Regions from separate parts of the Homo sapiens genome. Here all the other regions are linked to region 1. Evidence: promoter capture Hi-C in 16 types of primary human blood cells and fetal thymus (Javierre and others, 2016). All regions are on one chromosome and are shown on one strand. Each heading gives the region's core, a stretch centred on a gene start or on the middle of the fragment in contact. The rest is flanking DNA. Distances are from core to core; before and after follow the strand shown. Region 1 holds the start of DPP4 (dipeptidyl peptidase 4). Region 2 overlaps TANK-AS1 (TANK antisense RNA 1). Region 3 overlaps TANK (TRAF family member associated NFKB activator). Region 4 overlaps PSMD14-DT (PSMD14 divergent transcript). Region 5 holds the start of PSMD14 (proteasome 26S subunit, non-ATPase 14). Region 6 overlaps PSMD14 (proteasome 26S subunit, non-ATPase 14).

The links. The method cuts DNA at HindIII sites, captures the fragments that hold promoters and counts their contacts. A CHiCAGO score of 5 or more calls a contact.
Region 2: a fragment that was not itself captured here is called in contact with the fragment with the promoter of DPP4 in region 1 in 1 of 17 cell types (non-activated CD4 T cells); the score reaches 6.2 in non-activated CD4 T cells.
Region 3: a contact is called between a fragment that was not itself captured here and the fragment with the promoter of DPP4 in region 1, in 2 of 17 cell types (total CD4 T cells and fetal thymus). The highest score is 5.9, in total CD4 T cells.
Region 4: a fragment that was not itself captured here is called in contact with the fragment with the promoter of DPP4 in region 1 in 2 of 17 cell types (naive CD8 T cells and naive CD4 T cells); the score reaches 5.3 in naive CD8 T cells.
Region 5: the fragment with the promoter of PSMD14 here is called in contact with the fragment with the promoter of DPP4 in region 1 in 6 of 17 cell types (activated CD4 T cells, naive CD8 T cells, naive CD4 T cells and 3 more); the score reaches 9.8 in activated CD4 T cells.
Region 6: a contact is called between a fragment that was not itself captured here and the fragment with the promoter of DPP4 in region 1, in 1 of 17 cell types (naive CD8 T cells). The highest score is 5.2, in naive CD8 T cells.

Annotation. Positions count from the first base shown.
Region 1 is chr2:162,072,451-162,075,713 of GRCh38, forward strand. DPP4 (dipeptidyl peptidase 4) reads right to left here and starts at 1,765. Exons shown (of 26, transcript NM_001935.4): 1 at 1,526-1,765; 2 at 949-1,036. The coding sequence starts at 1,531. It overlaps DPP4-DT (DPP4 divergent transcript), which reads left to right and starts at 2,407. Exons shown (of 3, transcript NR_147697.1): 1 at 2,407-2,485; 2 at 3,028-3,161. RefSeq lists enhancers at 1,284-1,483, 1,918-2,615, a silencer at 1,634-1,893 and a promoter at 2,170-3,263. The HindIII fragment of the contact is 4,875 bases long and covers 1-3,263 here.
Region 2 is chr2:161,151,913-161,155,175 of GRCh38, forward strand. The region is part of intron 2 of TANK-AS1 (TANK antisense RNA 1); the gene reads right to left. It also overlaps a transcript of TANK not described here. Among named protein-coding and RNA genes, the nearest start is that of TANK-AS1, 6.7 kb to the right of the region's middle. The HindIII fragment of the contact is 1,011 bases long and covers 1,136-2,146 here.
Region 3 is chr2:161,230,291-161,233,553 of GRCh38, forward strand. TANK (TRAF family member associated NFKB activator) reads left to right here. Exons shown (of 8, transcript NM_001199135.3): 7 at 681-1,261. All of the region lies in intron 3 of PSMD14-DT (PSMD14 divergent transcript), which reads right to left. Among named protein-coding and RNA genes, the nearest start is that of LINC01806, 13 kb to the right of the region's middle. The HindIII fragment of the contact is 471 bases long and covers 1,550-2,020 here.
Region 4 is chr2:161,249,735-161,252,997 of GRCh38, forward strand. It overlaps PSMD14-DT (PSMD14 divergent transcript), which reads right to left. Exons shown (of 4, transcript NR_110593.1): 2 at 1,262-1,488. Among named protein-coding and RNA genes, the nearest start is that of PSMD14-DT, 3.3 kb to the right of the region's middle. The HindIII fragment of the contact is 247 bases long and covers 1,539-1,785 here.
Region 5 is chr2:161,306,650-161,309,912 of GRCh38, forward strand. PSMD14 (proteasome 26S subunit, non-ATPase 14) reads left to right here and starts at 1,776. Exons shown (of 12, transcript NM_005805.6): 1 at 1,776-1,955. RefSeq lists an enhancer at 1,644-2,103. The HindIII fragment of the contact is 7,205 bases long and covers 1-3,263 here.
Region 6 is chr2:161,387,700-161,390,962 of GRCh38, forward strand. The region is part of intron 8 of PSMD14 (proteasome 26S subunit, non-ATPase 14); the gene reads left to right. Among named protein-coding and RNA genes, the nearest start is that of TBR1, 27 kb to the right of the region's middle. The HindIII fragment of the contact is 1,048 bases long and covers 927-1,974 here.

The DNA of each region.
Region 1 (3,263 bases), core at 515-3,014:
GCATGGTTTTCATAGCTCTACAATCTAATTCTGAACTGTCATCCTAAAATCTAGATAAGACTCCTTGAGTATGCAAGCACTGACTATACATTCCTCAGTTGACTAAATCTTCCAGAGAGAATGCTTTAACTGGCTGACTAATTTATAGTGTGTAATGCTGAAATGAAAGCAAGTGTTTAAAAGGAAAGTAAGGCCAGGGGAGACTGAAACTAGTAGTTCTCACTTGCTTGCATCCTACAGTGAGTATTCCATTATGTGAGTGTTTTATACATTTAGGCAAGCTAAAAAGACATGAAAGTCCTTAAATAAAAGAATCCACCAAAACATCACTGATTCCAGACCCTTCTTAAATATTATCGTGTATACCAGCTTTATTATTTAGCTCTGCAATACTGCTAAATTGGTCAATTACTTCCCTGCCTCCCCACCCTCCAACTGAATTCTCACCACCCTTGAGGGAAAACAGTCTGGGTTCCCTGTGGAACATCATTTCTCAAAACTGTATTTTGGGGCTTGCTTTCTCATTTTTCCTTTCCATTTCAGATATCCTTACTGCTGTCTTTGGGCTCTTTAAACACTGCCTTTTTTCCTTTTTCGATCACACCCAAAAACTTTTCTCAAAAATTACATGTAAATTTAAAAATTTACAAATTAAATTTAAAATTGAAATTTTAAAAATCCCGACTCTCCCTAATTTCAGGAAGCATGCATTTATTATACATAACAAGACGTGAAAGCCGCAAGAGTTTCAGCCTAAACACTGAAGACCCCGCGAAGTGAATCCAGCTGCTGCTCTACAAGCAGCAACAACAACTGGGAAGCCTTCTCAGCTACACTTCGGGGCACTGGTCCAACCCCACGCAAAATCCCTCGTTTCCCTTAGCGTGGTAAGACGGAGCCTGACCTGAGCTCCAACTGTCCTATCTTTTTCAAATGTTTCAAACTTACTGCCTTTGTTCAGCAGAACCACGGGCACGGTGATGATGGTGACAAGCGCAGCAGCACCCAGCAGTCCCAGAAGAACCTTCCACGGTGTCTGCAAGCCGAGCAGATCAAGTCCAATTAGAGGGAAGCGTGTGGCCCCAGTTTCCGTAGGAGGGTCGGGGCTGCTCCAGAGGCAGCAGGATTTGCAGGTGGGAGTGCGTTAGAAGAGGGAGACCGCGGGCTGGGGGTGGGGGTGGCGTCTGGAGTGCGCCAGTTGGAGTTCTCTAAGGCGGGTGCCCTTGAACTTGTGCCTTCAGAGCACATTAGCGTTGGTTTCTCTACCCCTGCCCGGGTTCGGGCGTGCGTTCTGTGAGTGGCTCTCCGGGACATTCAAAGCTCGACGCCAGGGTCCTAGCAGAAGCCAGGGTCCGAAAGCTAAGCGAGAGCTCTGGGACGTCCCTTCACCTGTCAGAGGGTGGCCTTGGGGCTTCCGCCTAAGGGGAGTCCCTGGTCCGGTTTCGCCAGCTTTTGGGCCATTTGGGGAGTTTGGCGAAGAGGTCCCCACAGCTCGCCCCGGGGACGTACGTGGCGCGGCACTCACCTTCATCGTCGGCGTCTCCTCGGAAGTGAGCGTTCAGAGAAGGAGCGCAGGCAGAAGTCACCGCGGGCGGCGGAGACGCGCGTCCTGCACCGCTGCTCCGGGCGGTGGAGTCACTCGCCGCTGGCAAGTTTCGGCCCCGAGTTAAACATTAGTGAGCGCCGAGCCCGCTGGGTATAAAGGCGCCGCGGGCAGGCTGCAGGGCAGGCGGCGCGGGAGCAGGCGCGCGTGGCGCGGGGCACTGGCATCCCGGCCGGGGGGAGCCCGCGAGGGCCCCCTGAGGGCGGTGTAGGGCGCTGGGCGGCAGCCGGGGCGCAGAGTGCGGGGCCCGGAGGAGCCGTGGGGGAGGGGAAAGGGCGCGCGGCCTCGGATGCGCAGACCCTGGGCCGGCGACTCGGGGACCCTGCTCCCTCTTAGCTAAAAATGACGTCGGCGTTCAGCTCCTCCAACCTCACGTGGACAGGCGAGGGAACCGAGACCCAGAGAGGGCAGGGGACTTTGGCAAACTCACACAGCCCACCGCAGGCAACTGGAACTGAAACCCAGGACTCCGTCTCTTGCCAGTGAAAGTTATGTTAGGAAGCAGTGAGGGGTCTAAAGCAGTATGAAAGGCAAAGAGAAAAGGTGATTGTTCCCTCTTGAATGGCCCTTGGAAGCTGAGTATCTGGATTCACCCTCCCTAGGGAATTTCCCGATTGTCTTGCAGGCTTACACACTCATCAAGATGACAAAAATAATGACAGTAACACTTATGTGGAACTTGACTTTTTCCCAGGTGCTGCTCTAAGCATTTACTGTGTTTGTTTTACAGGAAGGAAGACTGTACACAGAGAATAAATAACTTGGCCAAGCCATTCAGCTAGGAAGTTGTAGATCCTAAATTAAGAGTTCAAGGTCTTAATGGCTACTCTATGCGGCCTCTCATAGTCTTTTCAAGGGTTTTGGAGAAGAATAAAAGATCAGGTATGGCTTCTCCCTCCCCCAGCTCTCTATTGTTCCCTAAAGGATTATTCATTCGTTCATTCATTCCTACATCCTCCCATTTATTCCAGTCATCCACAGATGTTTGAGTGGTTACAATGTGCCAGCCTCCCTTCTAGGTACTGGAGATAAAGTGGGACAAGAGAGGTGAGGTCTGGACCCTTGGCACTTTCACGATAAAATACACAGGTAAACATTTGCCTTTAGGGCCCCCTGTGATTACTTCCACTCTTGCAGATAAGAGGATAAGGCCTCTTCAGCTTGTTCACAGCAGCTGAAAAGCAAAGCCTCTCTGTCAGTAGAGGTAAAAGATTAAGAATGCAGAGTCCGATGGGGCATTACCACATGATTATGAATTAATGCAATTTTCCATCTTTTATTTCCAATCCAGGCATTGCTTTTGAACTCAGTCATCTTTTCCCCCTTGCCCACTAGTTGCTTGTGATACATCAGTATCCTCACTCACCCCCAACTCCAGAGGCTGAAACTAACTCTCCTCCTCCCTCTTCCAACTGCTGAGGAAGATGAGTCAATGGTGTTACTGGACCCTGTGAACTGATGCTGTGAAGAGAGGCCATTTAACACGGACTACGGGGAATGGTGCCACAGGGGGCTCAGTGCTGCCCTTCACTCTCAGCATTTTGCTCACTCAGCATTGGTAAGCCACATCAGCCTCGGTGAAGGAAGTCTGGAGAGTTAAGCCTGTGCTTCATCTCCATGCCAGCACCATGGCACTCATTGTACATTCAGCAAGCCCCAA
Region 2 (3,263 bases), core at 391-2,890, 920 kb before region 1:
TATTCCCTTCTCATTTTCTTTTGTGATTTTTAAAAAATATTTTCTTAGTCATTACCATGTGAGTTACAATTAACAACCTAAATTTATAACAACCTAATTTTAACTTATACCAACTTAGTTTCAGTAACATACAAACACTCCACTACTAAGCAGCTTAATCACCCCTTACGTGTTGTTGTCACAAATTATATCTTTATAAGTTGTGTGCCAGATTGATAATTATTTTTAAGGATTTGTCTTTTAAATCATATAGGAAATAAAAAGAGGAGTTACAAACCAAAATACAATTATCCTAGCTTTAATATATTTACCTATGTAGTTGTCTTTACTGAAGTTCTTTATTTCTTTGTATGGCCTCAAATTATCTCCTAGTAGTCAGCCTGAAGTACTCCCTTTATCATTTCTTTAGGGTAAGTCTACTAACACCAAGCTCCTTCTGCTTTCATTTATCTCAAAATGTCTTAATTTCTTCTTTATTTTTGAAGGATAGTCTTGCCATTTATAGAATTGTTGGTTTACACTTTTTTCTAGCACTTTATATATGTCATTCTACTATTTTCTGGCCTTCATAGTTTCAAAGCAAAATTGGCTGTTAATCTTATTGATGATCCCTTGCACATAATGTGTCACTTCTTTCTTGCTGCTTTCAATATTCTCTCTTTGTCCTCAGTTCAAAAATTGCCTCAAAAATTGAGAGTATCTGTACAATGAAATAATATATGAACAGGACCTGGCCTACAGAAGGAACTCAATAAATACTGGGTAATATAAATGATTCCTGTTATTTAGTGGGTGATTCTACATGCATTTGATTTTTAATTTAAATAATTAGCCATAATTATAACTTAAAATGTCTAAAAATTCACACTGAGAAGGTCTAGATATTGGACTTACTAGAAAAAGACTTTCAGTCAATTGTCTTAAATATGCCCAAAGAGCTAAAGGATAATTTGATTATAATGCCTCAGTGTGGATTTTTTTGAGTCTATTCTACTTAGAGTTCATTGAGCAACTTGAATAAGCTGGTTCAGACTTTTAGCAAATTGGGAAGTTTTCAGCCATTATTTCTTGAAATATTTTTTCTGCTTCATTTCTCTCATTTCTCCTTCAAGACTCCCACAATGCATAGAAGGTAAGCTTGATGTTAACTATCTTATCACATTCTCTGACTCTTTCTTCTGCTTGCTGAAATCTGCTATTGAACCCCTATAATTAATTTTCCATTTGTTATTGTGCCATTCAGCTCCAGAATTACTATTTGGTTCTGTTTTATAATTTATATCATGTTTTTATATTCTCCTTTTGTTCATAAATCATTTTCCTGATTTCTTTTAGTTCTTTGTCCATGGTTTTCTTTAGTTCTTCGGGCATATTTAAGGCAACTGATTGAAAGTCTTTTTCTATTAAGTCCAATATAGAGGCCTTCTCAGTATGAACTTTTAAAGACATTTTAAGTGATAATTATGACTTTTTATTTAAATTAAAAATCAGGCTGGGTGTGATCCCTATTCACACCTGTAATCCCAGCACTTTGGGAAGCAGAGGCAGATGGATCTCTTGAGCTCAGGAGTTTAATACCAGCCTGGGCAACATGGTGAAACCCTGTCTCTACAAAAAATACAAAAATTAGCCAGGCATGATGGTGCACGTCTGTAGTCCCAGCTACTCAGGAGCATAAGGTGGTAGAATCACATGAGCCCAGGAAGTCAAGGCTGCAATGAGCCAAGATCCTGCCCTGCACTCCAGCCTGGGTGACAACAGTGAGGCCCTGTCTCAAAAAAAAAAAAAAAAAAAAAAAATCAACTGCATGTAGAACCACCTACTAAGTTACAGGAATTTTCTATATTACCCAATATTTACTGCAGTCCTCCTGTAGGCCAGATCTTGTTCATACATTATTTTGTTGGACAAGTACACTCGACCTTTGACAGGAAAAGAAACTGAGGCACAGGATTAGTAAAGTCATATGATTAGTAAATGGCAATACCAACATATGAACGAGGCAACTTTAACACAGAACTCTCACTTACAATCATCATGCTTTAGCTTCTCTCAGCTGTAGTTTGCCTTCGTGGGGGCAATGATAACCTAGGACTCTGCCTAGTGAGTATAAGTTTCTCTAATATCAGTCATAATGGCCATCCTAAGCTTAAAAACATTCAAATATGTATCTTGAAATTTCAAGCATAATGCATGTCATAAAGAGGAAAGGACAGGGTAAAATAGGAGCCCACAGCTAAGCCCACAGTCTTAACCTAGAAAGGAAATCAAGTGTGGCCTAGCTTAGAATCAGATCATTCAGTAGAGGACTCAACAGACCAGGTAAAATATGAGGAAAACATGTTCTAGGCTGAGGAAAGCAGCAAATACCTGAAAAGGACAAAAGAGTGATCACTTAAGGTATTAAAAGAAGCCCAAAATCACCAGGAAGAAGCAGCAGGACATAAGTCTGGAGAGTTAGGAAGATGCCTTATTCCAGGATTAAGATTTTGGATTTTATTCTAAAGGTGAGGGGAAGACATTTAATAGTTGTAGGTGGTAAAGAAACATAACAACATAGAATCTGACAAGGGAGAAAGTGAGGCAAACAATTAGGAGGTTAGCATTGAAACTATGAGTTGATGGTGGCTTGAACAACGGGTAGGAATGGAGATAGATAGTAGCAATGGGGACATAGAGTGTAAGCATGCAAGAAATACTGCAGAGGAGTACTCACATGATGTACCTGATTGGGTGACTGATTGAATGTTGGGAATTAAGATATTTAAATCTTTATTATGTGGACAATGTTTTAATTTCTTTCTTCCTCTATTAACATAAAAATTAAGCATACACTTTTTTTTTTTTTTTGAGACAGAGTCTCACTCTGTTGCCCAGGCTGGAGTACAGTGGTGCCATCTCAGGTCACTGCAACCTCCGCCTCCCAGGTGCAAATGATTCTTGTGCCTCAGCTTCCTGAGTAGCTGGGATTACAGACGTGTACCACAACACCTGGCTAATTTTTGTACTTTTAGTAGAGATGAATTTTCTCCATGTTGGCCAGGCTGGTCTCGAACTCCTGGCCTCAAGTGATCTGCCTGCCTTGGCCTCTCAAAGTGATGGGATTACAGGTGTGAGCTACAATGTGCAGCCAAAAACAAGCGTACACTTTTAAATTCTACTTGTAGTTATTTATCTTCATATTAAAAAAACTAAAATGATACATCTTCAATTATTAGAATGAGATCCTGTAATTTTCTTATTTCTATATATAGATTAGAAAA
Region 3 (3,263 bases), core at 535-3,034, 840 kb before region 1:
TAAATGAGCTACAGAGGCCCTTTTGTCTACCAGATATTTACCTGTTTTTTACAGAGGTCTTTTTTAAAAAAAGATATAAGATGATAAAATAATCTATTCATCCACAGTTTTCTTAACATGCATCACAATATTTCATCCTTCCTTTGCCTTCACTGTCTTCTTTTTCCCAACTCCTGCAACCACCAGTCCCTCACATGGATTATTGAGAGCAGACAGTGGCTAAACTGATTAGTGATATACTTAGTTAGACAGTGACATTAATAATAAATGACCTAATTTTAGATATACCTAGTAAGATTTTCCCTTTTAACAACTTATTTGTCTAAGCAAACTCACAGTTATAGCTTCCGTTACTGACAAAATGTTTAAATGTATACACTACAAGCAAATGTTTTTCAAGTGTGGAGCAGTGTAACTGTGAACAAGATGCAAAGCTTACGGCAGAAGACTTAGGAAAAGACAAAGTAGTTAAATTGCGACTAATAAGCTATGTTTCAGTTCACCCGCTGGAGACTGCTAATATTCTGTGTAAGATGGTAGCAAATTTTAAAATCCCAGTTGTCTTCATTTGCTATAAAAACCAATAGAAAAAATAATAATAATCTCTCCAAAGCTGATTGAACAGATTTTTTTAATGATTTGAATGCGGCTGTTTCTCTTTTGTGTTCTTCTCCCTCCAGAAACACAGTGCTCTGTGCCTATACAGTGTACGGATAAAACAGATAAACAAGAAGCGCTGTTTAAGCCTCAGGCTAAAGATGATATAAATAGAGGTGCACCATCCATCACATCTGTCACACCAAGAGGACTGTGCAGAGATGAGGAAGACACCTCTTTTGAATCACTTTCTAAATTCAATGTCAAGTTTCCACCTATGGACAATGACTCAACTTTCTTACATAGCACTCCAGAGAGACCCGGCATCCTTAGTCCTGCCACGTCTGAGGCAGTGTGCCAAGAGAAATTTAATATGGAGTTCAGAGACAACCCAGGGAACTTTGTTAAAACAGAAGAAACTTTATTTGAAATTCAGGGAATTGACCCCATAGCTTCAGCTATACAAAACCTTAAAACAACTGACAAAACAAAGCCCTCAAATCTCGTAAACACTTGTATCAGGACAACTCTGGATAGAGCTGCGTGTTTGCCACCTGGAGACCATAATGCATTATATGTAAATAGCTTCCCACTTCTGGACCCATCTGATGCACCTTTTCCCTCACTCGATTCCCCGGGAAAAGCAATCCGAGGACCACAGCAGGTAACTGTTTTGCATTAACAAATATATTATTATGTGTGAACACACATTTTGCCATACATGCACAGATATGCATCTCTTTTACGTTATCAAACATCCTTTTTAAACTACTGACAGCCAAAGTTAAGGCTTTCAAAAAAACAAGTCCCATAATAAATGACATGAAATTAGAAAAGCTGAATATGGTAAAACTTTATTGGAAAGTACCTTAGAATTTATGTCAGATTTAAAAATACATGTTAAGCCTTATCCATATCTGTCGTGGTGTCACTTTCTTAGTTCCTTATTCAAAGCTTGTTTACTCAGGATTAATAAGAATATTAAATTTCATAGTGTGAAACAAATGCTGTTTTATTTAATAGTTTGTGTATATCATATTCATCTTTATAAGAATTCAAGATCTTTCATAAGTAAATAATTGCATCTTACATTTCTATTTATCAAAATAAGTGAACTATCTTTCAGTGAATACTTCTACTACATCTTCAGTTATATAGTACACAGATCTGTAGGGTTTAGTTTGGTTTTGGTTGCTAATCTGGAAATGAACATGTAGCCTAGTATATTTTTTAAATAGTCTCTGCATGTGTATGATATCAAATATTTTATTTAATGTTTCTAAAGCTCACAGACTAATATCCCCCAAACCACTCCTGCCCTCCCTTTTAGATTCAAATTCTATCACAGAATGATTCTTTTAGTTAAAAAAAAGTTTAATGTCTGAAAGCAAATGAAAACTATATAATTTTTACAAAAAACAGAAGCTTATGAAAATACAGATTGATGTAAATGTCTATGTAACTTGCAAACATTTGTCTGATTTCTCTTTGCCTTGAGATATTTAATTTTTTTAAAAAAGTTATTAATACCCTTTTGCTTTAAGTACACATATAGGTTATAGACTTAAATCAGCACGCAAAGAAGGCAGTTGTCAAGCTGTGGTATATTTTAGTAGTGGGAAGAACTAGGCATGGCTGACAATAAGTTTTAATTATAACCTCACTTATGTTCTTGTTCATTGTACTTTATTTCACATCATAGTCTCAGTTATAGTTGCTACTAAATGAAACAAATTAAACAATTTCATTTATTGCAAGTAGAATTCCTGTGGAGCTGTGAAGTGCATCAGTTCTAATGCTTGTTACTTTTTTCTCTATTATATGTCTTGCTTGTTCTTTTACTAGTCTGTGCATTCATGTTTCAGTAGATGGCACCCTGCATTGTACATTTGCTTTCTATACTACAGCAAGGGAAACAGCTGGTATGTGATTACAACTTGATGGAAAAGTATTCAGCTTAAAAAATTCAGGAGAATTAGTGTTGAGTTGTCACAAGACATGGGGCATAAGGTTAGATAATTGATATTTTGGCAGAAAAAGCAAAGAAATTAGTTTGTTTTGAAGACCATGTTACAGTTTAGGATGGAAAGAATATTTCTTAAAATGAGTTTTTTAAAAAAAACCTTTTAAGCTATTTTATTAGTATTAATAAAGCTAGTATTATGCAAGCTAGTATAAGTACAAAGCTAGTATAAGTACAAAATTCCTGAGTTGGGCCAGGTACGGTGGTTCATGCCTATAATCCCAGCACTTTGGGAGGCTGAGGCAGGAGGATTGATTAAGCCTAGGAATTTGAGACCAGCCTGGGCAACATAGTAAGACCTTGTCTCTACAAATACGTATAGTTATATAGATATATGTAGCTGGGTGTGGTGGCTTGTGCCTGTGGCCTCCAGCTACTTGGGAAGCTGAGGTGGGAGGATTGCTTGAGCTAGGTAGTTCGAGGTTGCAGTGAGCTGTGATGGTGCCATCACACTCCAGCCTGGGTGACAGAGCAAGACCCTGTCTCAAAATAATAATAATAATTTTTTTTTTAAAAAAATCCTGAGTTGTTTGTAGATAGTAGCAAAGACAAGTGAAATTTTTGGCTACATATTTCAAAATTTTACTTTCTATCAATCATTACTACTAAACATCTATTTTATATATTCAGCTATCATAACCAA
Region 4 (3,263 bases), core at 412-2,911, 820 kb before region 1:
AGAATTTATCTGGAGGACTCAGGACATTTTCTATATAGTAAACTGAATGATGAACATTATTTAAGGTGATAAATGGGAATAAATTTTAGAAAGTCATATCTCTAGAAAAATTTACTTGACCATTGGATTAATAGTCTAAGAAGTGATGGTGATAGAATAACAGTAGCGTCTTGGTGAAGCCCTTTCTCTTTGCTAGACACTTCACGTACATTCCCTCATTCAGTCGTTAATAATCACCTAATGAACCCAACGTGATTTTGTTTTACTGATGAGAAAAATGAGGCTAAGTTTAAGTCACATAGCTTGTAATGGATGAGGCTTTATAGCTGTGGGACTCTAGAGTCCATCTGATCATGTGATGTAGTTCCATTCTGGTTTCTGAAGGACAGAGACATGGAGGAGGTTTGAAAACTGTCTCTTTCCCCTCTTAAAATTCAGTTTTTCCTTTACTAAATCCAAAAGAGTAAGTGAAGTGGTCCAAGAATTTAGCAATGTAGTCAAGGTCCATTTGATTAGGAAGTCTTTATATGACTAGAAACAGGATTGCTTTGGCACATACATAAAGACTCTACACATCCATCCTCAAATTTAGCAATTTGAAGCAGTTAGCTACACGGACAGTTTTGTATGCATTGCTAAATGCAGACACAAAAACTGCATTTGCAAAAAGAGGAAACCCAGTTAAACTAGGTTGCAAATTTGGCCCTAATTTAGCGTAGCATTTGTGATACATATAGGTTAGAGTGACATTTATATAATGGTGTGAAATATGAGAAAGTTCCAATGCTAGACACAAAGACTTTTAAAAATTGCTTTTGCCTACTTTGGTTAGTTTAAGAAACAGGAGGAAGAATTTGGTTTTTCAAGTGATGGGAAGCCTTTAAGGATGTTGGAACACTGTTCAGTCCCCTGGGGTTCTGCCTGCTGTACAATTTTAAATGTCTTTTAGCTAAAAAATTGGCCAACAAGGGAAACACAGAGATGAAATATCTTCTTTCTTATCTGGAAAGTGAGAAACTATAGGTGGCTAACATAATCCAATTTTGATAGTCGAATAAATGGTCAGCTTTTGGGGTTAGAAAGTCATAATCCTCCTTGTTAATATGTCTATCTAACTGGAGTAACTACCTACCTATTAGAATTTATCTTGGAAATTTTGTCCTTATGCTCAGTTGTAGACGTGTTTCAGCTTAAGAAATACAGCCAAAAATGAGACTAGATAAATATACCATGTTTCATGTAAATGCTGCTATCATGGTACCTGAAACTATTTCCATTTCTTCATTGAAGACCACTGGAGGGCAGTGTTTTCTCCTTTGGGAACAGCACCTGGTTTCACATGGAGACTGCATAGATGTGTTAAAAAGGCATCTAGGTTACAGGAAATGAGTTGTACTTCTCATTCAGGCTGTGCTTGGAATTTACCCCCTCCTGTTTACGTGTCATTCAGATTGTTCCTTATCATACTGCCTGTCAAATTAGTTGTACCTGAAATCAGATTCCAAAAGATCATGTACAATACATATTTACTGTTTTAAAGCTTTATATTCATTAACTATTTGAGGCATTATGTTAAGTTCATTTTGCTAATATAAATAGCAAATAAAAAAGGATATATAAGCAAGAGTAGGCAGTTTTAACCAGATGCTTTGCACTTAAAATTTCAATATTTCATTGATTTTATTTTCAGTATAATTTTATTACATATAATATGTATACATATATTTGTCACCAAATTAGCAAATTCACATTTTCTGGAAAGAACAAATGAAGACTTTTCCTAGAAGCTTATTTGTCATATCTTATGATATGCCTTGTTCCCTAAGGATGGTATGTGGAAAAATGTTTAATTTCTTCTATTTTAAAAAATGATCTATTGCTGAGTATTAAATTATAAAATTATACTAATTTGTGTTTCCATTAGTTAAAAAATGAAACTGGATTACATATTAATTTGGTGTGTCAGGGGTCCATTTAATCTTTATTTAAAGGCATATAATGCAAACTGAATTCTTTTAATTATAATAGTCGTTTCATTGTTAAAAATGAAAATATCATATATTTTAGCTCTGTGACTTTGTCCAGCAAAATACTGCTACTTTTGCAAAATCAATATATAATTTTAGTCTAATGATTTACTTGATTTATTTTTTTCAATAAAGTGCCCAGAAGCTTACCTGGAACTTGGCCAAAATAAGGCAGAGCAACTAATCACTTGAGGAAAAACATAAATAACAATATCTGTATCATAAATGCTTTTTAAAAGTATTTCATTTTTATAACATTATTTCCGATTACAAAAGTAATACATGTTCATTGTGTACAGCCGCGTGCCACCACGCCCGGCTAATTTTTTGTATTTTTAGTAGAGACGGGGTTTCACTATGTTAGGAAGGATGGTCTCAATCTCCTGACCTCGTGATGCGCCCGCCTCGGCCTCCAAAAGGGCTGGGATTACAGGCGTGAGCCACTGTGCCTGGCCTCTTATACATATTTTTATGCACTAGTAAGTATTAAAAATAATTAGGATATATGACATTACTCATTGATGAGTGACACTTCCCTTAAAATATATCACATTTTCCCATGTCATTAAATACTAACTATAGTATTCCATAGTATAAATGCACCATAGTTTGTCTAACAAGTTCTCTAACACTATGTATTTGGTAATTGCTAATTTTTCCTTTTTTTGAGATAGAGTCTCACTCTGTCACCCAGGCTGGAGTGCAGTGGTACAATCTCGTCTCACTGCAGCTTCCACCTCCTGGGTTCAAGCGATTCTCCTGCCTCAACCTCCTGAGTAGCTGGGACTATAGGCATGTGCCACCATGCCCGGCTAATTTTTGTATATTTTAGTAGAGATGGGGTTTCACTATGTTGGCCAGGGTGGTCTCGAACTCTTGACCTCAAATGATCCACCCACCTAGGCCTCCCAAAGTGCTGGGATTACAGGCGTGAGCCACCATGCCCGGCCAATAATTGCTAATTTTTCTATATCATAAACAATGTTATGTGAACATCTCTGTGGACAAATATTTGCATACATTTATAATTACTTCCTCCAGATAAATTTCTAAAAGGGGAATTTTAGGGTCAAAAAGGATTTTTTTATGAGTTTTGATACGTAGACTAAAGTGCCTTCCAAAATGGAAGTACATGAGAATGTCTGTTTATCCTAATCTTCACCAACACTAAATGTTAACAGGTTTTTAATGGTCTCGAATTTGATGTTTGAAAAAATAATTGTTTTTACTTTTAGT
Region 5 (3,263 bases), core at 526-3,025, 770 kb before region 1:
ATGCACACCCTAAGCACCTTCTACAGTCTCAGGAATATGTTAGCGTTTTTCAAAGCCCTATGGACATCTTATTCCCCAGCTAAATACTTTAGTATGGCTGGAGCAAAAGGTGCTCCAAACAAAGTTTAAGGGTTTTTTTTTTTTTTGACCTTTATAATGAATGTTATGGGGAGCCACTAGTGGAATTTTAAATAAAGAAGGAGCATGACTACATATAGCACAAAAATTTTTACCAGTGAGGTGGAGAATGGATTAAAAGGAATCAGACCGAAGGCGGAAAGATCAAAGAGCATTCTAAAAAAGTAGCCTGGGGAACATGGTGAAATCCTGTCTCTACTAAAAAAATAAAATAAATAAAAACATAAATAAAAATTAACTGGGCATGGTGGCAAGCGCCTGTAGCCCTAGCTACCTAGGAGGCTGAAGTGGGAGGGTTGCCTGAGCCCGGGGACGGGATGTTGCAGTGAGCCCAGATGGCGCCACTGCACTCCAGCCTGCGTGACAAAGCAAGACCCTAACTCAAAAATGCATTAATAAATAAATACATATAAAATAAAATAAAATAAAAAAGAAGTGAGGAAGGTCTGAGTTAAGGCCAAAGTGGGGAGTATTTAGAAGGGGAAGTGGTGGATTGGAAAAGCTGTTATGGAGATTACACATTTCATGGTTTCTACAGTGGGGAGAGATGAAAAAGAGGCAAGTGTTCATACTCTTAAGTTTCTGATTAGGAAAATTATTTGGAGGACGGGGCTACTCACCCCCTCCTCCCATAAAAAATGAATAGAGAGGCATAGGTTTGGGGGGGAAGCATAAAGATGTGGATCCAAATATTACCTATGAGTAAAATAATCTTTGTGTTTTTAAAGGTATTAATATCTTAAAGCAATTGTGCTACTCAAATCACAGTTTGGATCCAGGCGCTGTAATCTTTCCTCACCCTCTGTCCAGTAGATTCATCACCATTCTCGATTTAGGAATGCTTTAAAGATGCTTGTTATTTGGAACATATTTGAGAAAGTGACAGGAACGTGGCAAACAAGCTGCCTTAAACAGAGACTGTACCTAGACCTAGAGTGTAATATCAACTTGTCAAGTATATCTTCTGCAACTTTGCTTTTTGAAAGCCTAGCACAAAGTAGATCATGAGTAAAATGTGATTGCCGATAATTACATGGAGAAATGTGAATAAATGACTCTTTAAACCCTGTAAACTAAACTCGGCTTAAAATAGGTGGTTTGAACATTTGGGAAACCTTAGTTTTCCCTGAAATCCAATCCTTGCAAAGCAATAATGACAAGAGGTGGATAAAGCGGACTTACAGAAAAGGGCGTCTTACCGGTCCCCTCTAATCACACCATCCCCCCTCTTTTAAAAAAATTTTCTTCTCAGATAACCAAGTTAAATCTAGCTCAAATGAACCTTTTAGTTTTTGAGGAGGGCAATAATAGTAGTGAACACCAAAACGAAAGGGGATCTGGGCTTCAAAATACTAACAGTTCTATTTCCTAGCCAGTCGTCTCCCGGGCTGGATGTGCCGCCGTCCCAGATCTCAGCGGCGGCCGCAGAGCGCAGAGGTAGGGAGAGAAAAAGGAGGCGTCGGCGGGGCGCGAGCGACCAGGGCGCTAAGTGCCGCCTCACAGTCCTGCCAGAGACAGGAGACGCCGGGCCGCCCGCGCCGTCTGTCCCAAGAGCTCCTCCTGGACATCCGCTTGACTCTCCGTCGTCTCCAATTGGCCGTCGGGGAACGGAAGCCGAAGCAAACTAGTGAACCCGGAAGTGCTTCGCGGCGGAGGCCCGGGCAACTCTTTTGAATGGAATCGGGCTGATTCATCGCCGGTTTGCAGACAGAGCCGCGTCGGGTGTGCGCCGCTGCTGCTGTTGCCTCTGTCTTCGCGTCACCACAGAGGCAAGACAAGGGTCCATATCGCGGCATCCGGCTCCCGCCCGTCTTCAGGTAAGACCCAGAAGGCAGGCCTGGGAGGTCTGGGGAGGCAGCCGTGCTAGGCCGCCGCCAGCCCCGTGCTTTCCTGAGTCACGTTGCCCAGCTGAGTTGCCACAGGAGGCCTGGGCCGCGAGGGAGGAGCCCGGCCTCCTTCATTCTCTTCGCCTGCTCTCAGGGCTCTCTGGCAGGGTCAGGTCTGGATGTCGCCTCCTTTCTCCATTCTTTTCTGTTTGGCCGAATTCACATCATGGGAACCTCTTCCATCTATATAGAGAGAATCCTTGTTTATGGCCTGTTTGTCTGTGCTCTATCCATAGTTGTTAACCGGTCTGCTTTGAAGTTTTTCAAAGCAGACCGGGAAAACAAGGGAGAGAGAGTAGAATTAACTTTCCCATTGAATACGTTTGTTTTATCTCTTGTCCTTCCTGTAAGCCTTAACCCTTTTTCTGTTAGTGTTAGGTTTTCAGCTCCCTCCAAAAAGTAAACAAAAGTCCTGCAGATACACTGCTTTTGGACCTTGAATATCTTAAAAACAAAGTGTGCTACTATGGCTGTTAACTTACTTTCAATATCATACTAATTGAGTAATTGTTGGTAAATTGATTACATTTCTCGTTTTAAGTAAAGTAGAAATCTGCTACCGTATGTTACATCTTGCAACTTAATTTTCCTGGGGATGTAGCTCTGTGTCTGTCAAAAGAAAAAGAATGTAAACTTTTGAGTCTATAAACCTAGTGACTGAAGGAAAAATTCTCGAGAAAATAAATGGTAATATAAGTTGATAAAATATTATGGAAAGGCAGGGGAAAGGGTTTAAAAATGAGCATAAAATAGAGTTATAGTGTGAAAGTGATTTTGTTCCACTGGTCACAAGTGTTTTTTTAGTGCTTCTGACTTAATGTGTTTGAGAAAAGCAGCAAGACATGCACTGATACTGTAGAAATAACAAAAACATGAACACAGTTTTAGTGGAGATGATTAATATAATGGTGGCCTTCCTGTCACGTAAGGCTACCTACCAGCTGACTCATTTGAAGTTTAGAGGTTAAGATATATAGTGGTTCTGAATTAACTACAGTTAAGGTGTGTTTAGTGAAGTGCTATTTAGTGAAAAAGGCTAAATGTTGTCTTGAATTTGTCCCTAAATCTTGCCAAGGGAAGAAAGTTTTCAAGTGATGATCTTTTATTGATGCTTCACCTGTTGACTTTGGGAGTTTTTGGTTTTTTGTTTTTTTTTCAGCCTAAAGTGCTTGGTAAATAATACATTGCCATTTTAATTTAGGCCGGGTGCGGTGGCTCACACCTGTAATCCCAGCACTT
Region 6 (3,263 bases), core at 201-2,700, 690 kb before region 1:
ATATTAGCATTGGTTACCTTTGGATGGTAGAATTATGAGATTTTTTTGTCTTTCCTTGTCCATATTTCTTAAATTTTTTTACAGTGAAACATATATTGCTTTTAGAAAATGTTATTTTTTAAAGTACTACTTGACAGTGTTGAAATAAGCTAAGAGACAAAGGTTATTTTCACGTTCATGTTTTATATAATAGAAGCCACTAATAATCCTGATAGAGAGGAGAAAGTATAATGCCTATCCTCTAGGCTTTTATATTAATATATGATAATGTATATTATTTTTATTTTGCACTTGGAACATTTGGCTATTACTTTCAAATGTTTAGAATTGAGAGTTAACAAGCATTTATTTTAGTAACTAAATTTTTTAAACTATTCCATTATAAACTGTTCAGTGACATTTTGGATTCTTAAGTGTCACAGTAAATTTGAAGATTGGTAGTCAGTCTCATGGAAATTTACTAAATATTGATGCATAGATGCATGTGCTAAGGCTAAGAGCCTCTAAGTATAGTCTTGAGTACAGTTGCATTGTTTAATAGAGTTAAGCTATTTGGAAAACATTGTTTCAGTAATTACTGAACATATAAGTTATAAAACAATTGCACTAGAAAGGAGCCATTGTAGTCATTTAGTACATGAGGAAACCTGAGGCCCATAAAGTTGAGTTGCCCAGGTAATCCAGTGAGGTAATGTAGGAACTAGTACTCATAACCAGACTGCTTCATTCTTTTATATTATCATTGGAAATTTAATTAATTAATTTTGGCATAGAAAATATATATACAGTTAAAAAAATTTAAAGTACAAAGTCATTTAGCAAAAACTCTCCCTTCCTCTTTTGCCTTCTGCAACTCAGTTCTCCACTCTAGAGGGAACCACAAAACACATTTTGTTTCTTTTCAGTTATTCTATTTATATTCAAAAAGCTTCATTTTAGAACGTGATTTAAAGGATATCAGTTACCACCGTATTTTCAGTTTATCAATATAAAATAAATTAAGGCAAACAAATTTGTCTTTAGATCCAAGCACACCTTTTTAAGGAGCATGAAAACTTTTAAAAACTTATCAGGAACCCATGAATAGCTTATATATAATCCGTAAGCCGTGTGTTTTATAATGCACCTGCTTTTCCACAGCAGTGAGTGCATAGAGGTAAAATCATAAGTCAGTTGGTCTTGTGTAGTTCTACATGAACCCAAAAAGGACATGGCCGGTTGACTTATGATTTGGGAGGAAGGCACTGGGGGCACACAGCAGGTGAGTAAGTGAAATTGAAAGACTACTTGAGGATATCATTTGATTTAAACTTACCTTTGTTTTGTTATTGTTATACCTGCTGATCTTTCATGCTGTCTGTGTTAGTTTTAATGCTTTTATCTATATAATGTAATTGAAAATCAAGTAGATTGTGCCTTCAGACACCAGTTAATATTTCATTAGTACAGTTAGTCTCAAAAATATAGGGCCTAGTATCTGTGAGTCCATTAACTGGCTTCTGTATGTATTGGCTACAGCAGTTACTAGCTTTATGACCACCATGTAGGGTTGTGCAAGTAGTGAGTGCATCGCGCAAATGTGCTTGGATGAGGGAGCTTCCAGCTCAAGCTCCACTCTCTACGCCAGACTATGTCTGCTTAGAGGACTGAGCACCTTTTTCTAATTCTCTACCAGGCTGATTCACCTCCTAATGTACACGAATATGAGCACAGATTAAAGGAAGCCCTGATCATTTCTACTTTTTGATCTGTACAGTATAGCATTTTTATGCACTAAAATTTAATTCATTGCTTCTGATGATTATTGAAATGAGTAAGGATTTAATATACACTCTTGGTACTTTACAATCAGTCACTGCTCCCTATGGAATTTCATAGCTCACTTTTATAACAGACATTGGTAAAATAAGAATCTATTGTTAAAGTACTCATCTAAAATATTTTAATACTCATTGGAGTGATTTTTGCTAGCAAAGCTTAAAAATTAACATAATGCTTTGTTTCATCCTGATCCTTAAAGTAAATAGACTTAATCCAAGAATTTCCTGACATGTATTGTGGCATAGTATGTTAGAAAGAACATAGGCTATGGAATCAGAATGACCTAGGTTCAGATCCCCATCTAGCCTTTTACTAGCTAGAAACTTGGACAAATTAATATTTGTGTCTTATTTTCTTTCTTTTTTGTTGTTTTTTTTTTTTTTTTTTTTTTTAGAGATGGGGTATTGCTATGTTGTCCAGGCTGGTCTTGAACTCTTGGGCTTAAGTGATTCTCCTGCCTCAGCCTCCCAGAGTGCTGGGATTACAGGCTTGAGCCACTGAGCCCGACCCTGCATTTTATTTTCATCTGTCAAAATACAAATTGAATTGCCCTACCTTACAGTACTATGAAGATTAGAAGATGTAATGTGTAAAGCAGATACTAGCTGCTCATTAAATGTTCTCTTCTTTACCCCTTCTTCCTCTACCTCAGTGACATCTTAAGACCTACATTGTAAAAGTCTATTAGTTAGAGAAGTGGTGGTTATTTTGGTTAGTTTTTCTCTTTAGATTCCTGAGGGTTAACCCCAAAGTCCTTTTTGTTTTTATACTTGTTAAAAATATCCCTAAAGGTTTATTTCTGACTTTCATGTTTTTCTAGGCTGCCAGAGGATCCTTTAGGTCCACCAGAGTACTGTTGAACCTCATTTGAACACTTGATGTTGTCAGAGTTAGATATGGGGGCAGTTGTGAATTGATTTCAGGACATCCAGGATTATTGTTTCTTAATAAAGCCATGCTATTAGCTTAAGATTTTATTATGATTGGCCTGTTCACCTTGGAGACAGAGTGAGGTGAAAAAAATTCTGGTTGGTGAGATTGCATGTCACTGGATAAGAGCATGAGCTAGACAGACCCAGTAAAGACCAAAATCCACATAGTTAATTTGGAGACATGCATAACATAATTATTTGAATCAATCAAAACTGAATTAGGAAAAGGGGAATTCCAGATTAATGTGGGTAAAGAAACAGCTGTGTTATTGTGGCTTTTTAGGCTTTTCATTTGAAATACCCATGAGCCCCCTAGATATCATAAAGTTAGATTTAATAAATTATGAATGATTTATAAACTTAGCTTATGATAAGATCAAACCTTATCTCTGACTGAGCAAGGCTACTGAAACTGCTTAATTTGTGCTCCTCCATATCATGCTTTGAAGAATGTGTAACCCGTTCCTCTAAACCTTAGTTTTAAACTTGTAGCTAAGAAGAATACTTTAA